3 separate regions of the Homo sapiens genome follow, and all the other regions are linked to region 3. The links are contacts of gene promoters, found by promoter capture Hi-C in human tissues and cell types (Jung and others, 2019). All regions are on one chromosome and are shown on one strand. Each heading gives the region's core, a stretch centred on a gene start or on the middle of the fragment in contact. The rest is flanking DNA. Distances are from core to core; before and after follow the strand shown.

The links. Contacts are between HindIII fragments. The study calls those that stand out against the background at their distance.
Region 1: a fragment that was not itself captured here is called in contact with the fragment with the promoter of C1orf56 in region 3 in 1 of the 25 tissues and cell types used here (heart right ventricle).
Region 2: a contact is called between a fragment that was not itself captured here and the fragment with the promoter of C1orf56 in region 3, in 1 of the 25 tissues and cell types used here (hippocampus).

Annotation. Positions count from the first base shown.
Region 1 is chr1:150,511,700-150,515,460 of GRCh38, forward strand. ECM1 (extracellular matrix protein 1) reads left to right here. Exons shown (of 10, transcript NM_004425.4): 7 at 1-132; 8 at 653-873; 9 at 1,026-1,113; 10 at 1,538-2,090. The coding sequence ends at 1,768. Among named protein-coding and RNA genes, the nearest start is that of FALEC, 2.2 kb to the right of the region's middle. RefSeq lists enhancers at 3,498-3,567, 3,638-3,761. The HindIII fragment of the contact is 4,741 bases long and covers 1-3,621 here.
Region 2 is chr1:150,299,473-150,303,220 of GRCh38, forward strand. All of the region lies in intron 2 of MRPS21 (mitochondrial ribosomal protein S21), which reads left to right. Among named protein-coding and RNA genes, the nearest start is that of MRPS21, 7.5 kb to the left of the region's middle. The HindIII fragment of the contact is 5,855 bases long and covers 1-3,748 here.
Region 3 is chr1:151,046,328-151,050,193 of GRCh38, forward strand. C1orf56 (chromosome 1 open reading frame 56) reads left to right here and starts at 1,424. Exons shown (of 2, transcript NM_017860.5): 1 at 1,424-2,525. The coding sequence starts at 1,521. It overlaps BNIPL (BCL2 interacting protein like), which reads left to right. Exons shown (of 10, transcript NM_138278.4): 10 at 324-1,393. The coding sequence ends at 360. RefSeq lists enhancers at 1,752-1,801, 2,082-2,321. The HindIII fragment of the contact is 7,874 bases long and covers 1-3,866 here.

The sequences.
Region 1 (3,761 bases), core at 1-2,500, 530 kb before region 3:
TTCCGCTCTGTGCCACGCAACCTGCCAGCTACTGACCCCCTACAAAGGGAGCTGCTGGCACTGATCCAGCTGGAGAGGGAGTTCCAGCGCTGCTGCCGCCAGGGGAACAATCACACCTGTACATGGAAGGCCGTAAGTGGGCGTCCCAGCCTCCCTGAGAGCCTGTTTGCCTGCCTGCCCATCTTCGACCTCTGATCCTGCCAGTCCATCCATCCATGTACCCCCCCTGCTGTGAGTGCGTCCACCCGTTCATCTGCTTGTGGCTGTCCGTCCATCCATTGTGTTTGTCACCTGAGTTTGTTCATCTTGAGCTTCGTACTACACTTCTGGCCTCCTCCACTCATGATCCACACACGCATCTGTCTACCATCCATCCATCCGTCCAGCTCTGGCCTCACCTGACCTTCTCCATCCACTGTTCCAGCTCATCTCCCGGCACCAGCTTGGAACCTCATCCAGGCTTCCACCCGTCCACCTTCCCAAGCCCACACATCAACAGTTGCCTCCTAACCCTCTACTTTTTTGCCATTCCCTTTGGGCCTCTCGGGCTGGGAGCCCCTCATCTAGTTGCCAGGGACGATAAGGGAAGTCGATGGTCAGGAGAGAAGGGGCCAAGTGTCCAGCTTCTGACTTCCCTCTCTCTGGTCCACAGTGGGAGGATACCCTTGACAAATACTGTGACCGGGAGTATGCTGTGAAGACCCACCACCACTTGTGTTGCCGCCACCCTCCCAGCCCTACTCGGGATGAGTGCTTTGCCCGTCGGGCTCCTTACCCCAACTATGACCGGGACATCTTGACCATTGACATCGGTCGAGTCACCCCCAACCTCATGGGCCACCTCTGTGGAAACCAAAGAGTTCTCACCAAGCAGTAAGTTGCCTAGTCCTTCCCCACTCTCTTCCTTTCCCGAAAACTTCCTTTTGGGACACCTTTGGGAAAAGCAAAATCATGATATCCCAACCCCATCTGATGCCAGAAGATGCCCAAAGACCCTAACCCCTGCCCCTTTCACACCAACATAGTAAACATATTCCTGGGCTGATCCACAACATGACTGCCCGCTGCTGTGACCTGCCATTTCCAGAACAGGCCTGCTGTGCAGAGGAGGAGGTGAGTGTGTGGAGTCTAGTCTCCAGAGGAATGCAGGGGAGGGGAGGGAAAGAGCTAGAACTGCAGGCCACCCCTTCTCTTTAGTACCTCAAACCAGCCTTTGGTTATAATGACTAGTGGGGGAGGTGTTTTTTTCTTGGTTCCAGAAAAGTCTTCACTCTGACCTGGCCTGCTCCCCATCTCTAAGTTCCTATTATGCCTTCTCCGGGCCACAAGCTTCTGGCATTTCCAGATGTACACATTTGTCAGTCACAAGGAATCCAGCTGTGCAAGGCAGTCTTGTACTCTCTCTGGGCCCCAGGAGGGGAACGAGGGAGAGAGCAGTAGAAGCTGATGAAAGGGGGACTTTGGCACCCAAGTATCTACATCTGTCCTTGGACCACCTCCCCACCCCATCATCTGTTTTACTTTTCTCATTCATCAGAAATTAACCTTCATCAATGATCTGTGTGGTCCCCGACGTAACATCTGGCGAGACCCTGCCCTCTGCTGTTACCTGAGTCCTGGGGATGAACAGGTCAACTGCTTCAACATCAATTATCTGAGGAACGTGGCTCTAGTGTCTGGAGACACTGAGAACGCCAAGGGCCAGGGGGAGCAGGGCTCAACTGGAGGAACAAATATCAGCTCCACCTCTGAGCCCAAGGAAGAATGAGTCACCCCAGAGCCCTAGAGGGTCAGATGGGGGGAACCCCACCCTGCCCCACCCATCTGAACACTCATTACACTAAACACCTCTTGGATTTGGTGTCCTCATTGTCTATCTAATGTCTCACCCGCAGTGTTTTAAGTGGATCTTGGTGCCCTGGCCCAGGAGGGCACTGGCGTTTTCAGACACACCACAGACAAACACACCCTCCTAAGCCTGCTTGTATTTCCTTCAGTGCCTGGCCCCTGAGGCCCACGGCCCTGCCCCCTTCACTGAGCAGATGTTCACAGGCTGTGGGATGCGACCATAACTAAACAGCTTGACGTCACTTTGCCATCTTGAATTTATTCACATATTTTGAAAGGAGTGCCACCTTGTTAGCTAGCTATCAGGACTCAAAGAAGATATGGTTCTTGGCCTTGGTGAGCCCCCAAAATGCCACAGCCCAGCCTAACATTTTTAAAGCTTCACTTTTGATCCTTAGAATTCATGCCTTCATTCATTCAATATCCTTTTTTTTTTTTTCTTGAGACACAGTCTCGCTCTATCGCCCAGGCTGAAGTGCAGTGGCACGATCTTGGCTCACTGCAACTTGCAACCCTCCTGGGTTCAAGCGATTCTCCTGCCTCAGCCTCCCGAGTAGCTGGGATTACAGGCGTGCACCAGCACACCCAGCTAATTTTTGTATTTTTAGTAGAGACGGGTTTTCACCATGTTGGCCAGGCTCCCAAAGTGCTGGGATTACAGGCGTGAGCCACTGTGCCTGGCCAATATCCATTTATTGAACCCCTATCTATGCACACTCTGCTAGACTTGGGGATACACATCCAGAACACACACAGCCCCTGCCCTGAGGTTGTTCACTGTCCCTGAGCCTAGCAGGTGTGACAAGTGTTGTGGTACAGGGCCCCCAGCGTGCTCTGAGCATGACAGGAACGTCCCGAGGTGGGAGTGGGGCTGGGGGCAGCACAGGTGCACAGGAGGGGCGTTGAGGTCAGAGTTTCTCCAGTAAAGAAGTAGAGGGTGTGAGCGGGCAGAGTGCGCACAAGGGTCAAGGCTGAAAGGACCTGACTCTTTGGTGGCCTTCCTCTCTGATATGGCTGGAATGATAAGCAGGAGCTCATCACTAATGCCTCACCCGCAGGGTTTTAAGTGGATCTTGGTGCCCTGGCCCAGGGGGCACTGGCGTTTTCAAGCGGAGGATGTGTTCCAATTTGCCTTTTAAGAATGTCTAGGCCGGACGCACTGGCTCACGCTGTAATCCCAGCATTTTGGAAGGCCGAGGCGGGCGGATCACTTGAGGTTAGGAGTTCGAGATCAGCCCGACCAACATGGTGAAACCCCATCTTTACTGAATTAGCCAGGCGTGGTGGTGCCCACCTATAATCCAAACTACTCGGGAGGCTGAGGCACGAGAATCACTTGAACCTGGGAGGTGGAGGTTGCAGTGAGCCAGTATCGCACCACTGCACTCAGCCTGGCCGACACAGCGAGACTGTGCCTCAAAAATAAAATAAAATAAAATAATGTCTAGTCGGAGAGCCGGGGAGGTGGCGCGCGCCTGTAATCCCAGCCACCCAAAGAGCTATGGTCTCGGCACTGCACTTCAACCTGCGAGACCCAGTCTCAAAAAGAAAAAAAAAAGTTTAGTCGGCAGCCAGCAAGGCGGGACGCTGGGAGGCCAGTTCAAAGAGTGTCGTCCCAAGTGCCGGAGGGACGGAGCTGTAGCCCCCAACCTGAGCTGGACCCGAGGGTGGCGGTGACTAGGACTCTCAAGCCCTACAAAGCTGCTCCCAGGAACCCGAGGCCTCAAGGCTGGATCTGAAAGAATCGGAATGAAGACTCGGAATGAAGAGTCCCAGGGGAACAAGTCCTGTGTGACTCCGCCGCCAGGACGACCTTCCAGAAAGCAGACTTCTCCGCTCCAGTTCTAGCGGAGACGGAGAGAGTGAACCAAGAACCATCATCCTGCGCCAGCCAGGGGCAAGCGGAGCCTCAG
Region 2 (3,748 bases), core at 412-2,911, 750 kb before region 3:
AGACGATGTCTCGCTCTTGTCCCCCAAGCTGGAGTGCAGTGGCATGATCTCGGCTCACTGCAACCTCCGCCTCCCAGGTTCAAGTGATTCTCCTGCCTCAGCCCCCCGTGTAGCTGGGATTACAGGCACTTGCCACCACGCCTGGCTAGTTTTGGTATTTTTAGTAGAGACGGGGTTTCACCATGTTGGCCAGGCTGGTCTCGAACTCCTGACCTCAGGTGATCCACCCGCCTCTGTCTCCCAAAGTGCTGGGATTACAGGTGTGAGCCACCACACCCAGCCCACATACTACTTTTATGGTTCTCTTTTTGTTGGTGACTGGCATTTTACACAAACCTATTTCCTGGGTCGAAGTGTTAATATTAGAGAGCCGGAGAGTGGTCAGTGTGACACCCTGTGGTTTCAACCCTGGCTGCCTATTAGGATCACCTAGGGAACGAACCATCAAGAAAACAAAACTAATGCCAGGGCCCAATCTGAGATGAATCAGAATCTCCAGGGGTTGCAACCTGGATGGCAGCATTTTAAAAAACATACCATGAGATTTCACCAGGATTGAAAATTATTATAATAGACTTGTAGCCTCCTGGCTGGGCACAGTGACTCATGCCTGTAATCCCAGCACTTTGGGAGGCTGAGGGGGGCGGATCATTTGAGGTTAGGAGTTCAAGACCAGCCTGGCCAACATGGTAAAACCCCGTCTCTACTAAAAATATAAAAATTAGCCGGGTATGATGGTGCATACCTGTAATCCCAGCTATTCGGGAGGCTGAGGCAGGAGAATCGCTTGAACCTGGGAGCTGGAGGTTGCAGTGAGCCGAGATCGCGCCACTGCACTCCAGCCTGGGTGACAAAGTGAGACCCTGTCTCAAAAAAAAAAAGGCTTGTAGCCTCCTTAAGGACAGAAACCTATGCTTTTTCATTTGTGTATCTCTTGGATTTACCAAAGTGTCTGGCACATCCAAAGCTCTCATTAAATGTCTACTTAATGAACATAAATGTTCCTTTATCTTTTTTGTCACTTATTTAATGTTTGTCAAACTTTTTTACTGAAGTGTCGTTAACAGCAGAGGAGAGTGAATGAACTATAGGGGTTCTGCTACTATAAGCAAACATGGAATTTCTTTGAAGCTTCCCTAAATTAAAATGTAAGGTGAACTTCGTATTCGTTGCCATTGCATCTGTTTTATGGGTAACACCCCCACTCCTTCGAGTTAAAATTGGTGCCTCCAGGCAGATGCATCAAATTTGTCCAGAAACTTGTATCCTTTGGCATTCTGTTAATTACCCTGGTTAAGAAGCACAGTATTACCTTTTCTTCAGGGATTAAAACACCAAAGTAGGAGTAGGATTTGGAAAAAAGCAATTTACATTGCTTAAAAAGAAAAGAATTATATTCTTTTCTTTTTAAGAAAGAAGAGGAGTGGTTAGAAAAATAAATTTGGCCAGGCGCGGTGGCTCACCCCTGTAAGCTCAGCACTTTGGGAGGCCGAGGCGGGTGGATCATCTGAGGTCAGGAGTTCAAGACCAGCCTGGCCAACATGATGAAACCCTGTCTCTACTAAAAAAAATACAAAAATTGGCCGGGCGCGGTGGCTCATGCCTGTAATCCCAGCACTTTGGGAGGCTGAGGGGGGCGGATCACGAGGTCAGGAGATCGAGACCATCCTGGCTAACACAGTGAAACCCCGTCTCTACTAAAAATACAAAAAATTAGCTGGGCGCCGTGGCGGGCGCCTATAGTCCCAGCTACTCGGGAGGCTGAGGCAGGAGAATGACGTGAACCCGGGAGGCGGAGCTTGCAGTGAGCCAAGATGGCGCCATTGCACTCCAACCTGGGGGACGAGAGCGAGACTTCGTCTCAAAAGAAAAAAAATTAGCCGGACATGGTGGCAGGTGCCTGTAATCCCAGCTACTCAGGAGGCTGAGGCAGGAGAATCGCTTGAACCCAGGAGGCGGAGGTTCCAGTGAGCCGAGATCGCGCCATTCATTGCACTCCAGCCTGGGGGACGAGAGCGAGACTTCGTCTCAAAAAAGGAAAAGAAATTCAAGTCCCATAGACTCAGAGTCCCATAAATTGTATTATAGCTTCGCGGGGCAGGGGGGAAATGAACAAATATTTCAGTCTTAGAATAATTTTCTTTTTCCTTTCTTTTTTTTTTAATACGGAGTCTCTCTCTGTTGCCCAGACTGCGTGGTCTCGCCTCACTGCAACCTCTGTCTCCCGGGTTCAAGTGATTCTCCTGCCTCAGCCTCCCGAGTAGCTGGGATTACAGGCACCTGCCACCACGTCCGGCTAATTTTTTGTAGTAGAGACGGGGTTTCACGATGTTGGCCAGGCTGGTCTCAAACTCCTGACCTCATGATTGGCCCGCCCGGCCTCCCAAAGCGCTGGGATTACAGGGGTGAGCCACCGTGCCCGGCCTCTTAGAATAATTTTCTAGGTAAGGACTTTCAAGCTTGCATACGTGAGCAGACTGATTTTGGAGTGATCCAATCTTCTGTTTTCCTGCTGCCTGTTAAACACATTTTCTGACTGATGCACTTTTCTGTTTCTTCTTTTTCTCTGCTTTTCCCAAATGTCCTCTCTCTAGCCACTTTTTCTGTATATCTTTCTCACACTCCAGGCCTCTCCTGATCTCTTTCAGCTTTCTCATAGCTGGTAGTTTAAAAATAATTTGCTTGTTCTGTGGTCTAATTACAACAATAGGTAGGAGAGCAAATGAGTCTAGAGGGAGGTGATTAAAGCTTTACCATGTTTGGAGTACAGAGAGAGTCTTACAAAGGAAATAGCCTACGTGTCTGTCCAGTGAGGCCACCACAAAATGCCTGTTATATAACTGGGGGCCCTCATTGGTGCCCCGGGATGAGAAGGTGGAGAGTGGGGGTTGCTAGGAAGCCCTGCATGATTGGCTGGCCCCCAAGCAAAGAAAGGTGAGTACACTGGAAGCATGCCCTGTTGACTCCTTTTACTCCTAGTGGGCTACCTTCTGGGTCCATTGAGTCCTTCTGCATACACGTCTGTCCTGACGTAGACTGGCTACACTGACATGTGAGTCTGCCACCCGCACCTCCCCCCGCTCCAGGCAGCTTGGCTCCTTTTACATAATCATTTGAATTTCACTAAAACTGGCAGCTGGTTTCTCCTTCAGTATTAGGTTGCCAGGCGCCCGAACTCCAGGCTGATCTGTTTACTCTAAAGCTCTTGATGTACTAGTCCTTGAACTACTTTTGGAAGCAGAAGGAAGCATCATTAGTAACACCCCCTCTATTCTTGTGTTTTACAAAGCTTTTCTTGCATCCTTTTCTGTTAGAGGTAAAGTTGAGTAGATACCTCTACTATAGGGACTCTGGGGCATTTGAAGATAATCTGTGCCTTTTTTAGTATGACTAGAACGTGTCGGGTAAGGGAGGGAATCCTCACCTGGCATCTTGGAATTTATTTGGTCTGTGTTTTGGAAGTAAGTAGTACATCCAGGGAATGCCATTTACCAACCCCCATCATTATATTCTTTCTTTTCCCTTCACCATTCTTATGTTCTTTTGTTATTCTTTTTCCTTGTCTTGCCCTTTTGCCTGACAGTACAGGCATTTCCTTGGTAAGATGATCACCTTTGTTTTAGAAGCCTTTTGGAACTCCAGTAGGGTTCCTTGAGTCATACTCAACCCCTTCCTCCTCTTGCAGTGTTGTTTCATCCTACTTTTAAACTGTCTTTGTCATTCCAATAGGTTCGTCTTCCTAGGTCAT
Region 3 (3,866 bases), core at 174-2,673:
TGAAGGACACTACTGCATCCAACAAGAATAAATGAAAAAAAAAAAAAACCTATACATATAAGTGCAGAGGCAATAAGGAATAAAGGAATAATCACAGTGCAGAGGAGATTCAGACTGGCCCTAGAAATTAGGAAGAGATGTGTTGGCAGTGAACAGATGATATCCAGTGGGGGAGAGGGTGTTAGGGAGCAAAAGTGCTAAATGATGACTCAACCCAATCATCTAGCTCTTCCAATTCACCTGGCTTCTCTCCCCAAACCAGAAAATAAAACCCAAGTCCTACCCCCTGAACCACTTCTCTCCTCCCCCTCTCCCTCTCCTAGGCTGGACCGGGATCTCCATGGCTCAGGAGGGACATAGCACAGGACTGGATAAAAGGCCTTAGAACCAGTTAGTGATCTGCCTACACCTGAATCCCTGAAACATCTGAACTGTTTTGTAAATCATCTTATCCCCAACCTCAGTACCACCGGATCTTCACTTCTCAGTGGGATTTTGTCCTTTGCATGACCCTACTTTCAGCAGGGCTTTGAGGCTGGGAAACTGATCTGCTGGGTGACTTTCATTCCAGTTGCTGGGACGGAAGGCTGAATGTAGGGTCATTTTGTATGGGATATGCAGAGCTCTGGGTTTTTTTGTTTTTTGTTTTTTGAGACGGAGTCTCGCTCTGTCGCCAGGCTGGAGTGCAGTGGTGCGATCTCGGCTCACTGCAACCTCCGCCTCCCGGTTCAAGCCATTCTTCTGCCTCAGCCTCAGCGAGTAGCTGAGACTACCGGCGCACGCCACCACGCCCAGCTAATTGTTTTGTATTTTTAGTAGAGACGGGGTTTCACCATGTTGGCCAGGATGGTCTCGATCTCTTGACCTCGTGATCTGCCCGCCTCGGCCTCCCAAAGTGCCGAGATTACAGGTGTGAGCCACCGCGCTCGGCCAGAGCTCTGGGTTTTAATCCTACTTTAGCTGTAGAACCTTGGGCAAATAACTTCATCTTTTTGGGTCCTAATTTTCCTCCTGTCTAACTGGAGGGACTGTGATCCTTCCACCTTGGATGGAAGAGGCTTACCTGACAGCCAGCCTGCCTGCTGGGAGCCAGGAGAGTCAGCTCATTAAATCTTGAAGAACCGCTGTATGCCCTTTTTCCTTCTAAGTCATGTCTGCTGCCTGTGAGCCTGGGAAGGAGTGCTTTCAAAACCTGTATTTTTGCCCTCTTTAGTAAATTTAGAACTGTAGAGGCTAATAAACTGCGATGAGACATTTAAGCTCTGCTCCAAAGAAGTGAACGACTCTTTCACCACCCCTTGCATCCCAAACCTTCGGTTCTGGCAGAGTTCTTGCCGCAGAGGTTCCTTAGGAGCACCCCGCGCGGCCCGCGCGAGCGCGCCTGCGCGTCGAACCCCACCCCCTTCCCCGCGGGCCTCGGTTCAAACGACCCGGTGGGTCTACAGCGGAAGGGAGGGAGCGAAGGTAGGAGGCAGGGCTTGCCTCACTGGCCACCCTCCCAACCCCAAGAGCCCAGCCCCATGGTCCCCGCCGCCGGCGCGCTGCTGTGGGTCCTGCTGCTGAATCTGGGTCCCCGGGCGGCGGGGGCCCAAGGCCTGACCCAGACTCCGACCGAAATGCAGCGGGTCAGTTTACGCTTTGGGGGCCCCATGACCCGCAGCTACCGGAGCACCGCCCGGACTGGTCTTCCCCGGAAGACAAGGATAATCCTAGAGGACGAGAATGATGCCATGGCCGACGCCGACCGCCTGGCTGGACCAGCGGCTGCCGAGCTCTTGGCCGCCACGGTGTCCACCGGCTTTAGCCGGTCGTCCGCCATTAACGAGGAGGATGGGTCTTCAGAAGAGGGGGTTGTGATTAATGCCGGAAAGGATAGCACCAGCAGAGAGCTTCCCAGTGCGACTCCCAATACAGCGGGGAGTTCCAGCACGAGGTTTATAGCCAATAGTCAGGAGCCTGAAATCAGGCTGACTTCAAGCCTGCCGCGCTCCCCCGGGAGGTCTACTGAGGACCTGCCAGGCTCGCAGGCCACCCTGAGCCAGTGGTCCACACCTGGGTCTACCCCGAGCCGGTGGCCGTCACCCTCACCCACAGCCATGCCATCTCCTGAGGATCTGCGGCTGGTGCTGATGCCCTGGGGCCCGTGGCACTGCCACTGCAAGTCGGGCACCATGAGCCGGAGCCGGTCTGGGAAGCTGCACGGCCTTTCCGGGCGCCTTCGAGTTGGGGCGCTGAGCCAGCTCCGCACGGAGCACAAGCCTTGCACCTATCAACAATGTCCCTGCAACCGACTTCGGGAAGAGTGCCCCCTGGACACAAGTCTCTGTACTGACACCAACTGTGCCTCTCAGAGCACCACCAGTACCAGGACCACCACTACCCCCTTCCCCACCATCCACCTCAGAAGCAGTCCCAGCCTGCCACCCGCCAGCCCCTGCCCAGCCCTGGCTTTTTGGAAACGGGTCAGGATTGGCCTGGAGGATATTTGGAATAGCCTCTCTTCAGTGTTCACAGAGATGCAACCAGTAAGTGTTTGGTGATGAGCCAGGGTCTTTGTTGACGGATCTGAAAAGTCCTGGTATCTAAAACCCAGTTGCTAAGCCAGCCAGTGTTGCTTACATGAACTGTTACTGACTTACCTGGTTATTGATTCATAACATGCATTGGTTATTCACATTGTTAGCCATTGATTCCACCTATTATTTATTGAGCAACTACTGGTTGGTCATTAGGTAAAATGTCTTACTGCTCATTAGGTGATTATTGACCAAATAGTTAAGATTGGAAATATTTTTTTTTTTCAAGACAAGAGTTTCACTCTTATTGCCGAGGCTGGAGTGCAATGGCGTGATCCTGGCTCACTGCAACCTCTGCCTCCCAGGTTCAAACAATTCTCCTGCCTCAGCCTCTTGAGTAGCTGGGATTACAGGCACCCACCACCATGCCCGGCTAATTTTTTTTTTTTTTTTAGAAGAGACAGCATTTTACCATGTTGGCCAGGCTGGTCTAGAACTCCTGACCTCAAGTGATCCACCCGCCTCGGCCTCCCAAAGTGCTGGGATTATAGGCATGAGCCACCATGCCTGGTCTTGGAAATTCTCTGTTTTTTTCACAGACAAGATCTCGCTATGTTGCCCAGGCTGGTCTTAAACTCCTGGGCTCAAGCAATTCTCCTGCCTCAGCCTTCCAAAGTGCTGGGATTACAGGCATGAGCTACTGTGCCCCTGACCATAAGACTTTTTTTTCGAGACAGGGTCTCTCATCACTCAGGCTGGAGTGTGGTGGCGCAGTCACAACTCACTGCACCCTCCATCTTCTGGGCTCAAGCAATCCTCCCACCTTAGCCTGCTGAATAGCTGGGACTACAGACGTGCACCACCATGCCTGGCTAACAAGATCTCGCTATGTTGCCCAGGCTGGTCTCCAACTCCTGAGCTCAAGGATCTGCCCACCTTGGCCTTCCAGAATTCTGGGATTACAGACATGAGCCACTGTGCCCGGCCCATAAAGTCTTTTTGATGCACAGATAATTAACAGATATGAAGGATCTTAATCAATTAATAGTTTTGACCTAATACAGCTTAACAGCAACAAGTGCCAAAATTTGAGGTCTTACTATGTGCACTTTACCTGAATCGATCCTCACATCCTATGAGGTATTATTATCCCTGCTTTTCAGATGAAGAAACTGAGGTTTACAAAGCTAGTAAGTGGCAGAGCCACGAGATTTAAACCAGGTTTGACACCAGTGCCCACTCTCTTCACCACTACCATTTGGGAGTACTGTCCTTCCAGGACAAGGAAGGATAGTCCTCTGCTTTTCCCAGAATTAGCAAAGGTTCTGATTGACTTGATAAGGTAGTCTC